Regions from separate parts of the Homo sapiens genome. Here region 1 is linked to region 2. Evidence: promoter capture Hi-C in human tissues and cell types (Jung and others, 2019). All regions are on one chromosome and are shown on one strand. The core of a region is centred on a gene start or on the middle of the fragment in contact, and the rest is flanking DNA. Distances in the headings are between cores, read along the strand shown. Region 1 overlaps ATXN2 (ataxin 2). Region 2 holds the start of TMEM116 (transmembrane protein 116).

Region 1 (6,444 bases), core at 1,395-3,894, 560 kb before region 2:
AGGCCTTAACAAACCCCCTCCCCAAATATTAGCCAAGCACCAGTATTGCTTTCAGAATAACAGGTCAGACTGTGAAGTATCGCCATGGCAGCCATCAAGTAGTAGAGCACAATCACAGGGCGCTCTCCCCTGTTCAGGGGCTGGGGCTAACGCTACACTCAAAGCCAGTCCATCCACAGCGCTTTCTCAGCAGTATCTTCTCCAGAGCTACAATCAAACTCTGCCATGGTAATAACCCCCCACATGTCAGACTTTTGGGACTCAGGAAGGAAAACACTGCCCTGTCCAGCCTGTCATAACAAGGAAGGCCAACTGAGTCCTAGGCATGCATCAGGCTGCTGTTGCTGCTGCTGCTGCTTCTCATCAAGCCAAATCCTGTATACCATCAGAACACACACAGACTCGGCTCCCGGAAGCCTCAGGCCCTGATGCTGAACTGATCGTCACAGTCCCTCCTGTGCACACTCCTGGACGGGTCTTGCTAGTTCTCAAATGCGGGGCTTGAAGCACTGGCCCTGCCTGCCATTCCACCTGTGCGAGCAGAATGCTTTGGGGTGCCCCGGCGGCCCCTGCACACACACGCCTCACCTGAAGGGTGCGTCATATAGGGGAAATGCGCTGTTGTCGAGACTGGAATGGGCTGTAGTGCACTTTGAGCGAGGGCGGCCTGGGGACCGCCGGGTGGCTGTGTCGTCATTAGCATCATTGGCGCATGGGCAGTTGGATGAGAAGGAACCATTCCTGACTGTACATGAGCCTGAAACAGAGAGCTCTTTTACGCATACAGGCAACATCTCCGGCTTCAACAACATGTCAACTGTGTTCCTTTCACTGGGCTGGGACTCTCAGGAAAGGGCAACGGTGGGCCTCAGGGCCCAGTTCTGTTCTCTGGGGACAATCTCTAGTAGATTATCTATTGACCTGAAGACGCGCTTCACCTTTGGGCAGATCCTGCAAGGGTCAGGGAGCAGGCAACAAGTGAGCCTGGGTAGAAGTCAGGGCTGTGCTGTCCTAACCCTTGACATTTCTGATCATTGTATTCTATGTATGGGGTAAGATCTTCACAAAGATTAGACACTGGATCCAAGGGCAGCTTTCTCAACTTAATATCATACAAGATTCAATGATGCTTCAGAATCAGGCTGCCATGTGGGGCCTGAGGTAGTTTTGCAGATAACATCCCTTTCAAATAGGAAAACAGATTACATTAATAAGCAGAGACTGTCACAGTCAAGTATGTGAATTACTTGGACCTCTGTTCATTTGCCTCTCTCCCTCTGCTTCTGGTCTGCTCACCAGGCAGTGAAAAGAGACTCTTAGGCCCCCGTGACTCTCTCAGAGATATGCTGATGGAGCAGGAGGAGGAGGAGGAGTTGGAGTTTTTAATGGCTCCAGTGAGATGGAAAGGAGTAACCTGAAGTCATCTGGGCCAGCCCAGCGTCTCTGTACCAAGTTCAACCTGGTCTCACTCACTGTCAAGTTGGAAAGGTGATTTTAGTCAGCCCAAACAGCTGGATTCCAGCTCTGCAGGGGGTTGGCAGGGCCAGGAAGAGCCCTTGTTTCCTTTTTCCCACACTGTGCACTGTTCTAGACTACGATAAGCCTTGGATGAAATGCCGTTTTTACTCTCACATATTCAAACGGGCACATGGCAAATTTGAGCTTCCCTGTGTTAACCTTTTTGCCCTTTCAGCACAAAAACAGAGTGAGGTTTTAGGGATCCCTGACTTACATGTAAGTTCACATGCCTACTTAGCCACCAGCCTCTGGTAGACACCTACAGGACCCCAGCTCTTATGAAGCTGACTCCACCAAACCACGCTGGCCCACACGGACCAAACCGGCTTCCCTCCCCACTATCAAAAAGCAAATCAACTGCAGTGCGCTACACCACAGAACCTAAACTTTGCAGGGTGAGGACGCCCAAACTTCCCAGAGCTGTGGAACTCTACTTACAAGGTAGCCTTCTGAGAGATAGATCCAACTGAGTCGCATCTCTAGCCCACACCTTGCCAGAGCCTCACTGGCGCACTATTTAACAGGAAATGGAATTCATTGTGGCAGGTCTCACTTAGACCCGCCTCAGAGAGTTCTGTTATGAAAGTAGCAGAGACATCTAATACAGCCAATTCACCCGTAACAGCCCCAGGGAGGGCCTCAAGGCCAGCGTTAGAGCCCAACTTCAGTGCAGCTCCTTCTCCTCATTAAGACAATCCCCTGGGCCCTGGAGTGCAGGGACCTTTGTCAGCAGCTGATGCAGACAGCAACCACTGAGATGGCAAGCACACCTTTCACCTGTAGCAGCTTACACTGGAGGTGAGCTCCAAAGTGCTTCCAGGGCTGCTCTTAAAGAAAAATGGGACCACCTGGGTGCTTCCAGCTTCTAGTTACACTGCACCAATGTCCAAGGCCAAGCCCTCTCAAGAGTACAACTTATGGTCAAAGCAGATATATGGATAACCAGGGAAAACAATTGGAGAGATGTGTCTGGAACTCATGTGAGTAACAATCAAGTTGACAGGCCCCGGTAGTCACTTCGGAGAGCTGAGACTCTGTGAAGGCCATCATCCCTGCCTGGCTTCCAAGGTAAGTGTGTAGGGGAATATATATGTACACATATATATAGTAGTGAGGCTATATAGACATAGCAAAGCAGACACAGAAAGGAAAGAAGGACTGGGTTGCATTCCAGAGTCAAAGATATTTTTAAGGTCTCAGTTGGAAAACTAAAGGACTGACCAATCAGCACCTTCACTGATCCCATGACAAAACCACACAAACATTCCCTTAGGGCCAGATCACGTGTATTTGAGAGGGAAAGGGAGACAGGCAAATGGCATGACACACAGGGTTTCCTAGCTGGGAGAGCCTCTAGCTGCTTACTGATAACCTTCACATTCTACTTGGCCTTCACAGAAAGTTGGCTAAAGCTGGTATTACCTGAGGTACGTGGGCCATGTGGGGTGGGTTGGTATACGCCGGCTGAACGTGAGAAGGATGGATCGTAAAGACAGTCTGTTGTGCTGCTGGGAAACTATTCTGTGGCGACTGCGTGTTGGAGGCAGGTGTCATGGAGGGTGGAGTTGGCGCAAGCCCCGCGTGGTAAATGGCTGACTGCTGCTGTGGACTGGCCAGATGGAGAGCCTGGGCGGCCTGGTGCTGATGGTGCTGCAAAGCGACAGGAAAGAATTGAGAGGAAAACTTCTTTAATGAAAAGCAGCCAAGGGATACCCACAAAGCTAAGCTTTGCACACTTGGGCCTATGATGAGGGTCACTGGAAAGTACAGGAGAATGTACAGGGTGGTAAGAGCAAGGCTGGAGGTGCCTCCCATCTGGACAACTCCTTTCTAGGGTACAGAAGCCTGATTCTCAGTCTGGCAGTTAGAAACTTCTGAGCATACATACTAAAGTCAAAAAAGACTACTGCCCCAGGGAACTGATAGATATCAAAGACATCTTTAACTGCCTCCATTAGCAAACATAATTCAAGAAGCTCATAGGAAAATAACCTCATCACATAAACCTTAGAAATTAAAAAGTCCCAAGCAAATAGGAATTTGCCTTATGAACTTTATGTTAAATTTGATTTTTCATTACTGCAAGTTTCCAGAGCTTATCCAATCACCTTATTATCAACATGTATCTTAAATGTGATTTTTTTTAATTTTTTATTTTTTTGAGACAGAGTCTCGCTGTTGTCCAAGCTGGAGTGCAGTGGCGCGATCTCTGCTCACTGCAAGCTCCGCCTCCCGGGTTCACGCCATTCTCCTTCCTCAGCCTCCCGAGAAGCTGGGACTACAGGCGCCCACCACCACGCCCGGCTAATTTTTTTGTATTTTTATTAGAGACGGAGTTTCACAGTGTTCGCCAGGATGGTCTCAATCTCCTGACCTCGTGATCCACCCGCCTCGGCCTCCCAAAGTGGTGGGATTACAGGCGTGAGCCACTGCGCCCAGCCTTTAAATGTGATTCTTAAAACCACCACCCCAGGGGCACAGCTGTATCCATCTTCACGAGGGTGGACATGCCATGTGTTCTGACGATGCGATACCTGGCACCTGAAGAAAGCACTCAGATACTAGGATAAAGAAGCCACTCCATGCAGACCTCTGAGTTGCCCTTACCTGAACAGGACTGGGTGCAGGATGACTTCCACCATGTTGGCTTTGCTGCTGTCCAGTGGGGGTAGCTGAAGGCTGAGGGTGTGGAGTATGTGGGTGCAGGGTAGCGTTAGGGTGCGCATACTGCTGAGCAAGGGAGCCCGTGGAAACTAAAGTGAAAGAAAAAGGAGCATGTACACAACCGATGTCTGACAACCTCCATCGCTCCTCTACACTTCATCAACTGAACTTTCTTGATGGTTACAATGCATAACTCACGCCACTACCAATTTCTATAGATGACTCCATTTAAACCATCCATTGTCTTGAAAAAATAAGTGTAGCTATTGCTTAACAGACTAGCATTTGGTTCATATAATACAGCTCTACATATGATATTAAAATCAAATTAGTTTGCATTTACTCTTAACGGTCACTAGGTTTTCCCAAAAAGGCAACTTGAAGGCATAGGCAGAAACTACTCAAACAAGTGCATTTTAGGTGCACACTCTTTAGCTCAAGGCCATCATCAGGCTAACCTCACCATGCTACTGCCCTGGAGCAATGTCCTGAGGGCACAGACTATATTGGGTGTGGTGGGGGATGGGGGTGCGGGCACTGTGTATGGTATGTGGCAAGGCCAGGGATCTATCATCAGGGCCGAAGGACCACAGTCTCTCTCAGCTAATCACAGGAGCCCTTCTGCCACTCAGTTTACTTTCCCAAGCCCTAATGGAGGATCTCCCATCTTTGCTTTATGAAATAAATATAGAAAAGTAAACTCCCTTCTGAGTGCCCCAGCCCTTTGGAAAGAAATTTACTAGACTAACTTCAAAGGACAACATGATGGGCCAGTTTAAATCAAAATAAAGATAAGAACTGAAAGCCAGTTCTTTGTGAATCTCAGCGTGGGCCAAACCTTGGTACAAAAACCATTTCTTCATGTCTTTCAGTTTTTTGTTTTTTGTTTTTTTTTGAGATATAAGTCTCACTCACTCTGTTGCCCAGGCTCACTGCAACCTCTGCCTCCCAGGTTCAAGCAATTCTCCTGCCTCAGCCTCCCGAGTAGCTGAGATTACAGGCATGTGCCACCACGCCCAGCTAATTTTTGTATTTTTAGTAGAGATGGGGTTTCGCCATGCTGGCCAGGCTGATCTCAAACTCCTGACCTCAAATGATCCGCCCACTTCAGCCTCCCAAAGTGCTGGGATTACAGACGTGAGCCACCGTGCCTGGCCTGTTCATGTGCTTCAAAAACAGTAAGTTGAGAATCAGAAGCAGAGTAGGATGTGTTCACTGCTTCCAGTGACTATGGACAGCACACCGATGATAAAAAACTAACCTCCACGAGGCAATGAGCTGAGAATAGAGCGTTCTCAAGACAACTCTAGCAAGGTATAGTTCCCAGCCCTCTCTTGAGAAACAAATCCTAAAATCCCTCAAGATAATAAGCCCATACACAGAAATGATTCCAAAATAGTTCCCCACATTCTTCATATAACGTGTTAGCAAACACAGACATATGCAGGACTGATTGGTGAGAGAAGCAAGCACAGCTTTGGGAAGAGGCACCCTAGTTCCAGCAGTCTGGTAGGCAAGGCTGCCGAGTCACCAGCATAGACGGCTCTGGGTATATTCCACGTAAATGGTGTGCAGAGGGTTAGGCTAGGCACATGGAGCAGTTCTATAATCCTAGGTGTTGTAGGGCTAAGGGCCACCAACTCTCCAGCCCTAACAGTTACGTCTCCAGCTGCAAAGCTATCTCTTAGCAGGGGAAAGGGCAAGGCAAAGAGCCAGTTCTAGGATCACCTGTGCATCCACTGCCAATGCCACAGCTGGCATTAATATTCCTTCATATCCAGTTTAGACTGGATACAGCAGCTTTGTTTATACACTGGGAAAATTTTCCAGACTGTAGGAATTAACATATGCCAGAATATTTTAACAAGAAAACTGTGGCAACATAGTCTCTGAATGTTTTTAAGAGTAGTGAACGTCTTCTGGGAGCTAGAACAAATGATGTACAAACGATGAAGCCTTCCTGAGCTTCACAGTCCCATAAGTCTATAAGACAGTCCTTTTTTTCTAACTTGGTGGCTTATTAACAGGCCCTCCATCATCATCATACTCATTAAGTTTACTTCCAGCTCCTCCAAGTTGTATAGGCACTGACTTGGTCTAAAAGATTTGATGTAAATTTCGAACCTGAGTTTGTTGTACTTGTAAAAATCTTACGTTCATTTTAAAAATGTATTTATTTGTTTAATTTTTGACAGAGTCTCGCTCTGTTGCCCAGGCTGGAGTGCAGGGGCACCATCTCGGCTCACTGCAACCTCCGCCTCC
Region 2 (6,393 bases), core at 1,503-4,002:
GACAATGAAGGGTGAACAAGACAAAGATGAACTTTATTGAGTGTTACAACAGCTCAGAGACCTCCAGTGGGTATTTCCTCTCTGTAGGCAGGTTGTCCATCAGGTATTCAGTTCTCAGTAGAGAGGAGGCCCTGGAGAGGATGGCTCCTCTCTGCAACTGATCGTCCTAATGTCTGCAGCTCTCAGAAGAGAGGAGGCCCTGGAGAGGGTGGCTCTTCTCTGCCCACAGGTTGTCTCTGCAGCTGTCAGCAGGGAGGGTAGGTCCTTTTTGCAACTGGCTGTTCCATCATCTCCAACTATCAGCAGAGAGGGTAGCTCCTCTCTTAGGCTTGTTGACCCATAGGTCTCTGCCCTCTTGGTCCTCTGGCAGTCCTCTGCCCTACTCTGGCTGAACCCAGGGTTTTTATGGACCTCCGAGGGGAGGAAGTACATGCCGATTGGTCCATGGGCAGGCCAGAAGATGCACCACGAGTCCCTACTCCAGTCTGCAGGACTGGCAGCCTGGACCCCTGTCTTCAGGCCCTCCCTGACCTGAAGGTGGGGTCTTACTGGGGACTCACCCACTTCTACCCTGGAATCAATCTGCCTCCCATTGCCATTCTTGGCCCCAAGCCCGCTCTGAGATTGGAGCAGGCCCCGGGAGTAGAGAGAGTCCAGGCGGTGGGAACAGACACTCCTGAGCCTGCAGGGATTGCAGTAGGGTGTCTTGCTGGTCCCCCAAGGGTGCAGGCTGCAGAGATGCCCAGGTCCTGCACCTGGGAGGGCAGCCACAATGGCACCAGGGGCTCCTGCCTCAACTCAGAAGGGGCGGGGCTCCCACAGGCTCCATGGAGTGTGCAGCCCCAGTCACACCTCCCTGCTGCAGCTGGCTGCCATCAATAGGGCAAACTCAAAATTTTTCTTAACTTCCCCAGACACATTCACACATACACACACACAAACACACACACACTTTCTTTCAAAATTTATATCCAATCAAACTGGTTGTCCATGATTGGATCCTGTTATCACTGTTGACTATTTATACACATACATTTTGGAAACATACAATGGTTAATTATAGCAGTAAGTCCCTTACAATGCATTGTATATGTTCTCTTACATGCATTTGTTCATCAAATCTTGTGAATTCTACCCTTTAAAAGTTTGTCAATTCCATCCATACTTCTTCAGCCCTATTATGTCCTACTGCATGACCTTAACCTCTTCCAACTAGACTATTGCCATACCCCATTAATTGGCTTTAGTCCCGTCTTCTCAATTCCAATCCATTTCCTTCATTCCTGAGTAATGTTGTTTTTGTTTTGAGACAGTCTTCTCTGTTGCCCAGACTGGAGTGCAGTGGCAGCAATCAGGGCTGACTGCAGCCTCGACCCCTCAGGTCCAAGTGATCCTGCTGCCTCAGCCTCCCAAGTACCTGGGACCACAGGCATGCACTACCACACATGGCTAATTTTTCTACTTATTGTAGAGACGAGGTTTCATTACGTTGCCCAGGCTGACCTGGGTGCTGTTTCTACACACAAATCTAACCTCACTCTCCTAGTTAAAACTTCTGGTGACTCCAAACCCTTTAGCTTGGTGAGACCCTTTCGAATCCGCCCCATGGAAGCTCAGTAATAATCAATCAAAATAAAAAAGAGCGGCAGCAGCTGTTGCGCCAGTTCGCCTTTACATAGATTCATCTCAACCAGTTCCCCAACATGCCTGTGCATAATTTTCCCATTGTTAGAAATGCCCTGTTTCTCTTTGCCTCATGCACGCCCCCTCTTATTTCAAGGTCCAGCTCAAAAGTCACCTCCTGTCTACAACTTCCTCTGATGCTCCTGAGCAGGGATGGCTGAATCTCTGTCTCTTTACAATAAGAAAATACGGTCTTTTTTTTTCTTTTTGAGACTGAGTCTCGCTCTGTCACCTAGGCTGAAGTGCAATGGCGAAATCTCGGCTCACCCCAACTTCCGCCTCCTGGGTTCATGCAATTCTCCTGCCTCAGCCTCTTGAGTAGCTGGGATTACAGGCACGCACCACCACACTCGCCTGATTTTTAGTAGAAACGGGGTTTCACCATGTTGGCCAGGCTGGTCTCGAACTCCTGACCTCAGGTAATCCACCTGCCTCGGCCTCCCAAAGTGCTGGGATTACAGACGTGAGTCAACGCGCCCAGCCGGAATAATATTTTACAGCAATTACACTGCACTGTTTAGATCATTATTCCTATGCCGCCTCCTCCCCCAACAAAGTGCGTGCCTTCAGCACACAACGGTCTTGTTTCTGCTTATTCCGTAGCCCCGCAGGCAAAGCCAGAGTCTGGCACAAGCCAGGGACCGAGTGACTACCTGCGGAACAGAATGATTAGAATTGCGTCTGGGGTTCCTGGAGGGTGGGCCTTGGCTGGGCGGATCCCAGGAGCCTGGCGTCTCCCAGGGGAGGCGCTCACCTCAGATCGGGCCTAAGAGGGCCCTGCTTGCCACACTGACCGCCAAGCCTGGCCAAAAAGCTCAGGGAAGCCGCGGAGCCACTGCCCGCCTGGGTCAGGGTGGTGACGGAGCCTGACTGAGAATAACGGCTGAACTTGACTAATAGACTGACCGAGGGTTGGAGCGGGTCCCAACCAACTGCCTGACGGCCCAAAGGCAGGAAGAAACGATGGTAGGCCTTGTCATCTTCGAAGGAGAGGAAGGACAGCAAACGAATTGCTATAGCGTCCCCATGCGCACTTGGCGCTTCTCCTCAAGCGGAGCAGGAACGGAACTGGGCGGACCCGCCGGAAGACTCGGCGAGTGCGCGCGCGCAGGAGCCCATTTTCCCGCCCGCAACGTGGCCCCGCCCTTTTACCCAGGCCCTACGCGAGCTTCGCCGAGTACGCGTGCGCAGCAGCTTCCCCTCCCTCGCCCCGCCCCTCACGTGGCCCCACCCTCTCACCCTAGACAGATGGGAGCCTCCTGGGGTGTCCACGTGAGCGCGCGTGAGTCCGCCCCCCCAGTCACGTGACCGCTGACTCGGGGCGTTCTCCACTATCGCTTACCTACCTCCCTCTGCAGGAACCCGGCGATATGGCTGCCGCTGTGCCCCGCGCCGCATTTCTCTCCCCGCTGCTTCCCCTTCTCCTGGGCTTCCTGCTCCTCTCCGCTCCGCATGGCGGCAGCGGCCTGCACACCAAGGGCGCCCTTCCCCTGGATACGGTCACTTTCTACAAGGTAACCGGGGCGGGGGACGTCGCGCGCAGGTGCCGCCGGGGCGCCCGGAAGAGCGCGCGCCCGTGGGGAGACGCTGGATTCCGGGAGCTGACGGGAGGTGGTCTGTAGCAACGGTCCCAGAGCTTCCCGGCGTCCTACAGGCCTAGTGGACTCTGAGCGGAGAATGTTATGACCACCGGGCATGCACGCTTCAGGGCCCCGGCGCACCCTTGCTTTTGCAGCATTTATACTTGCATCCACCCTTGCAAAGATGCAGCCGAGGGAACTGGGTGCCCCTTCCCTTCACCTGTGGGGAGAGGGCGGTGCCTGGCGAGATCCAACCCTCGAGTCCCAAGTGGGAGAACCGGAGGGCGGTGCGAGGTCGACGCCACCGGGCTCCCGGCTGTGGAAGCTGGGAGGGGTTGGCGGGGGGAAATGCAGGCGCGTTAGCCTGCGTGTCCGCGCCCCTCTTCCCAGGGTTGGATTGCAGCCTGCTTTGCAGTGTGCAAACAATGATCAGATATCATACATCTTGAATAGTGCAAGCGTGAAGAATAAGCTTCAGTTCAGCCACCCTGTAAAGCAGGGGTCCCCAACCACCAGGCCCGTCGGTGGCCTGTTAGAAACCGGGCCGCACAGCAGGAGGTGAGCGGCAGGCGAGCTAGCACTACAGCCTGAGCTCCGCCTCCTGTTACATCAGCTGCGGCATTACATTCTCATAGGAGCACGACCTTTATTGTGAACTACGCATGTGAGGGATCCAGGTTGTGTGCTTCTTATCAGAATCTAATGCCTGATGATCTGAGGCGAAACAGGTTCATGTCGAAACCACCCAACCCCGTGGAAAAGTTGTCTTCCATGAAACCAGTTCTTGGTGCCAAAAAGGTTGGGGATAGCTGTTGTAGGAAACATCTTGGGGTTGGCAACAAAATCAGTAAAATTGGGTCAAGGCATGGAAGAATTTGCCACTACCTCCGCCTTTCCCCCCTTCCATTTTTGCAGAATTAGGGATCCTGGCCTGAGTAAATGGACGGTTGGAAATGGTGGCTGAATGCAACACCGCAGTCCCAGTCCCCTCCTCTTGCACCTGTCTTCACCCACGAGCAGCTTTTAACTTCCTCTAGGAGATGGGCAAGCTTAGTGTTGCGAGAGAGCCAGTCATTTCATTTTCAGGTTTTGTACTCATTGTGGGGAAGTGAAACCAAGAAGTAGTTGTCTCCAGTGGTTGAAGTCTCCTATTTTCAAGCGTTCCCTGTCGTGGATTTGGCACTTGCAGCTCATTCAAGGCAAAGTTTCAAGAATTTAAAAGTGTAGGCCGGGCTTAGTGGCTCACGCCTGTAATCCCAGCACTTTGGGAGGCTGAGGCGGGTAGATCACCTGAGGTCAGGAGTTTGAGACCAGCCTGACCAACAAGGTGAAACCCCGTCCCTACTAAAAATACAAAAATTAGCTGGGCGTGGTGGTGGACACCTGTAGTCCCAGCTCCTCGGGAGGCTTAGACAGGAGAATTGCTTGAACCCAGGAGGCGGAGGTTGCGGTGAGCCAAGATCACGCCACTGCACTCCAGCCTGGGCGACAGAGCAAATACTCCGTCTCAAAAAAAAAAAAAAAAGTGTGGGCTGGGTGCGGTGGCTCATGCTTGTAATCCCGGCACTTTGGGAGGCTGAGGCAGGTAGATCACCTGAGGTCAGGAGTTGGAGACCAGCCTGGCCAACATGGTGAAACCCTGTCTCTACTAAAAATACAAAAATTAGCTGGGCGTGGTGGCGGGTGCCTGTAATCCCAGCTACTCGGGAGGCTGAGGCAGGAGAATTGCTTGAACCTGGGAGGTGGAGGTTGCAGTAAGCCGTCATCATGCCATGACACTCCAGCCTGGGCAACAAGAGCAAAACTCTGTCTCAAAAAAAAAAAAAATGGTGTAGGTGTGGCTGATTGGTTGTCAGGCATGCTCAGACACACCCTACAGCACCCTATGCTTTGGGGGCCTTTACTGGCAAAATGACACCCCTACCCCACCCTGCTCCATGGGAATCAGATAATATCACAGAACAAGTGTGACCCAAAGGGAAACTTTGCGCCATAAAGCTAACAGTGTTTTCTACTATTACCACCCTAGTCTAGGTCAACATTACAATAGCCTCTTCTCTGGTCTCCCTGCTTCCACTCTTGAGTCTCCACACAGTAGCCTAAGTTCTATATGACCTGACTCCTGGCTTCCCTCTCATCTCCCAACCATTCTCCTACTGTCTTTTGAATATTCCTTGCTCTTTACTGCCTTAGGATATGTTGCACTAGTTGTTCCTTGTGACTGGAATATTCTCTGCCCAAACTTTGAAAGGCTAGTTAGTTACTTCTCATCATTCGGGCTTAGGTTAAGTGTTTCCTCCTTAGAGTTCTTCCTTGATTTATCTTCCCCCCAGTCTAAAGTGCCAGTCACATTAATCTGTTTTATTTCTCCATACAGCACTCATCACTGATTTTTTAAAAATCTATTTTGCCATCTTTCTCTCTCACTGGAATATTATGTGCTCATGAAGAAGCTCCTTGTCTATTTTGTTCCTGATCGTCTGCGCTGCATAACAGATTACCTGTCTCATAGAAGGTGCACAATAACTATTTTGTTGCGTGAATGAACAAACGTTTTCTCCAGTCTCTTTTCAAATCTTCTCTTCCATCACGACTGAACCAAAAGGAAATGTACTAGTGTTCTGTCTGGCAGCCTTGTTCCATGCTTTGCCTTTCAGTGATTTCCAGTATCTTTTTTGTTGTTGTTTCTTTCCCTTCACCATCACTAGAATGTTAGTTTCATGAGCTAAGAGATGCCATTTTGTTCCCTGCTGTGTTCACTTAGTATGGTGCCTGGCAGGCCTTTAGTAACTTTTTACTCAATGAACGAATGAATGAATAATGAACTTATCTATACTTTAAAGAAGTGAGTTGCCTGATTATAGGTAATGGTAGAGCTGATTCCCACTAGCCCATTGGACACCAAGGGCTGGTAGGAAGTAGATGAGGAAAATAGACTTCTAAAGCTATCATTAAGAGATAACAGACCACTTCGGGAGGCCGAGGCAGGTGGATCACAAGTTCAGGAGATCGAGGTCATCCTGGCTAACACGGTGAAACCCTGTCTCTACTAAAAATACAAAAAAATTAGCCGGACGTGGTGGCGGGCACCTGTAGTCCCAGCTACTTGGGAGGCTGAGGCAGGAGAATG

Evidence for each region. Contacts are between HindIII fragments. The study calls those that stand out against the background at their distance.
Region 1: a contact is called between a fragment that was not itself captured here and the fragment with the promoter of TMEM116 in region 2, in 1 of the 25 tissues and cell types used here (hippocampus).

What each region holds. Positions count from the first base shown.
Region 1 is chr12:111,453,089-111,459,532 of GRCh38, forward strand. ATXN2 (ataxin 2) reads right to left here. Exons shown (of 25, transcript NM_001372574.1): 22 at 4,126-4,271; 23 at 2,941-3,168; 24 at 589-757. Among named protein-coding and RNA genes, the nearest start is that of SH2B3, 50 kb to the left of the region's middle. The HindIII fragment of the contact is 9,101 bases long and covers 1-6,444 here.
Region 2 is chr12:112,010,413-112,016,805 of GRCh38, forward strand. It overlaps TMEM116 (transmembrane protein 116), which reads right to left and starts at 2,753. Exons shown (of 11, transcript NM_001193531.2): 1 at 2,590-2,753. It overlaps ERP29 (endoplasmic reticulum protein 29), which reads left to right and starts at 3,014. Exons shown (of 3, transcript NM_006817.4): 1 at 3,014-3,197. The coding sequence starts at 3,054. RefSeq lists enhancers at 711-1,224, 1,729-2,617, 2,488-2,677, 4,348-4,487 and silencers at 2,838-2,917, 3,258-3,347. The HindIII fragment of the contact is 14,663 bases long and covers 1-4,023 here.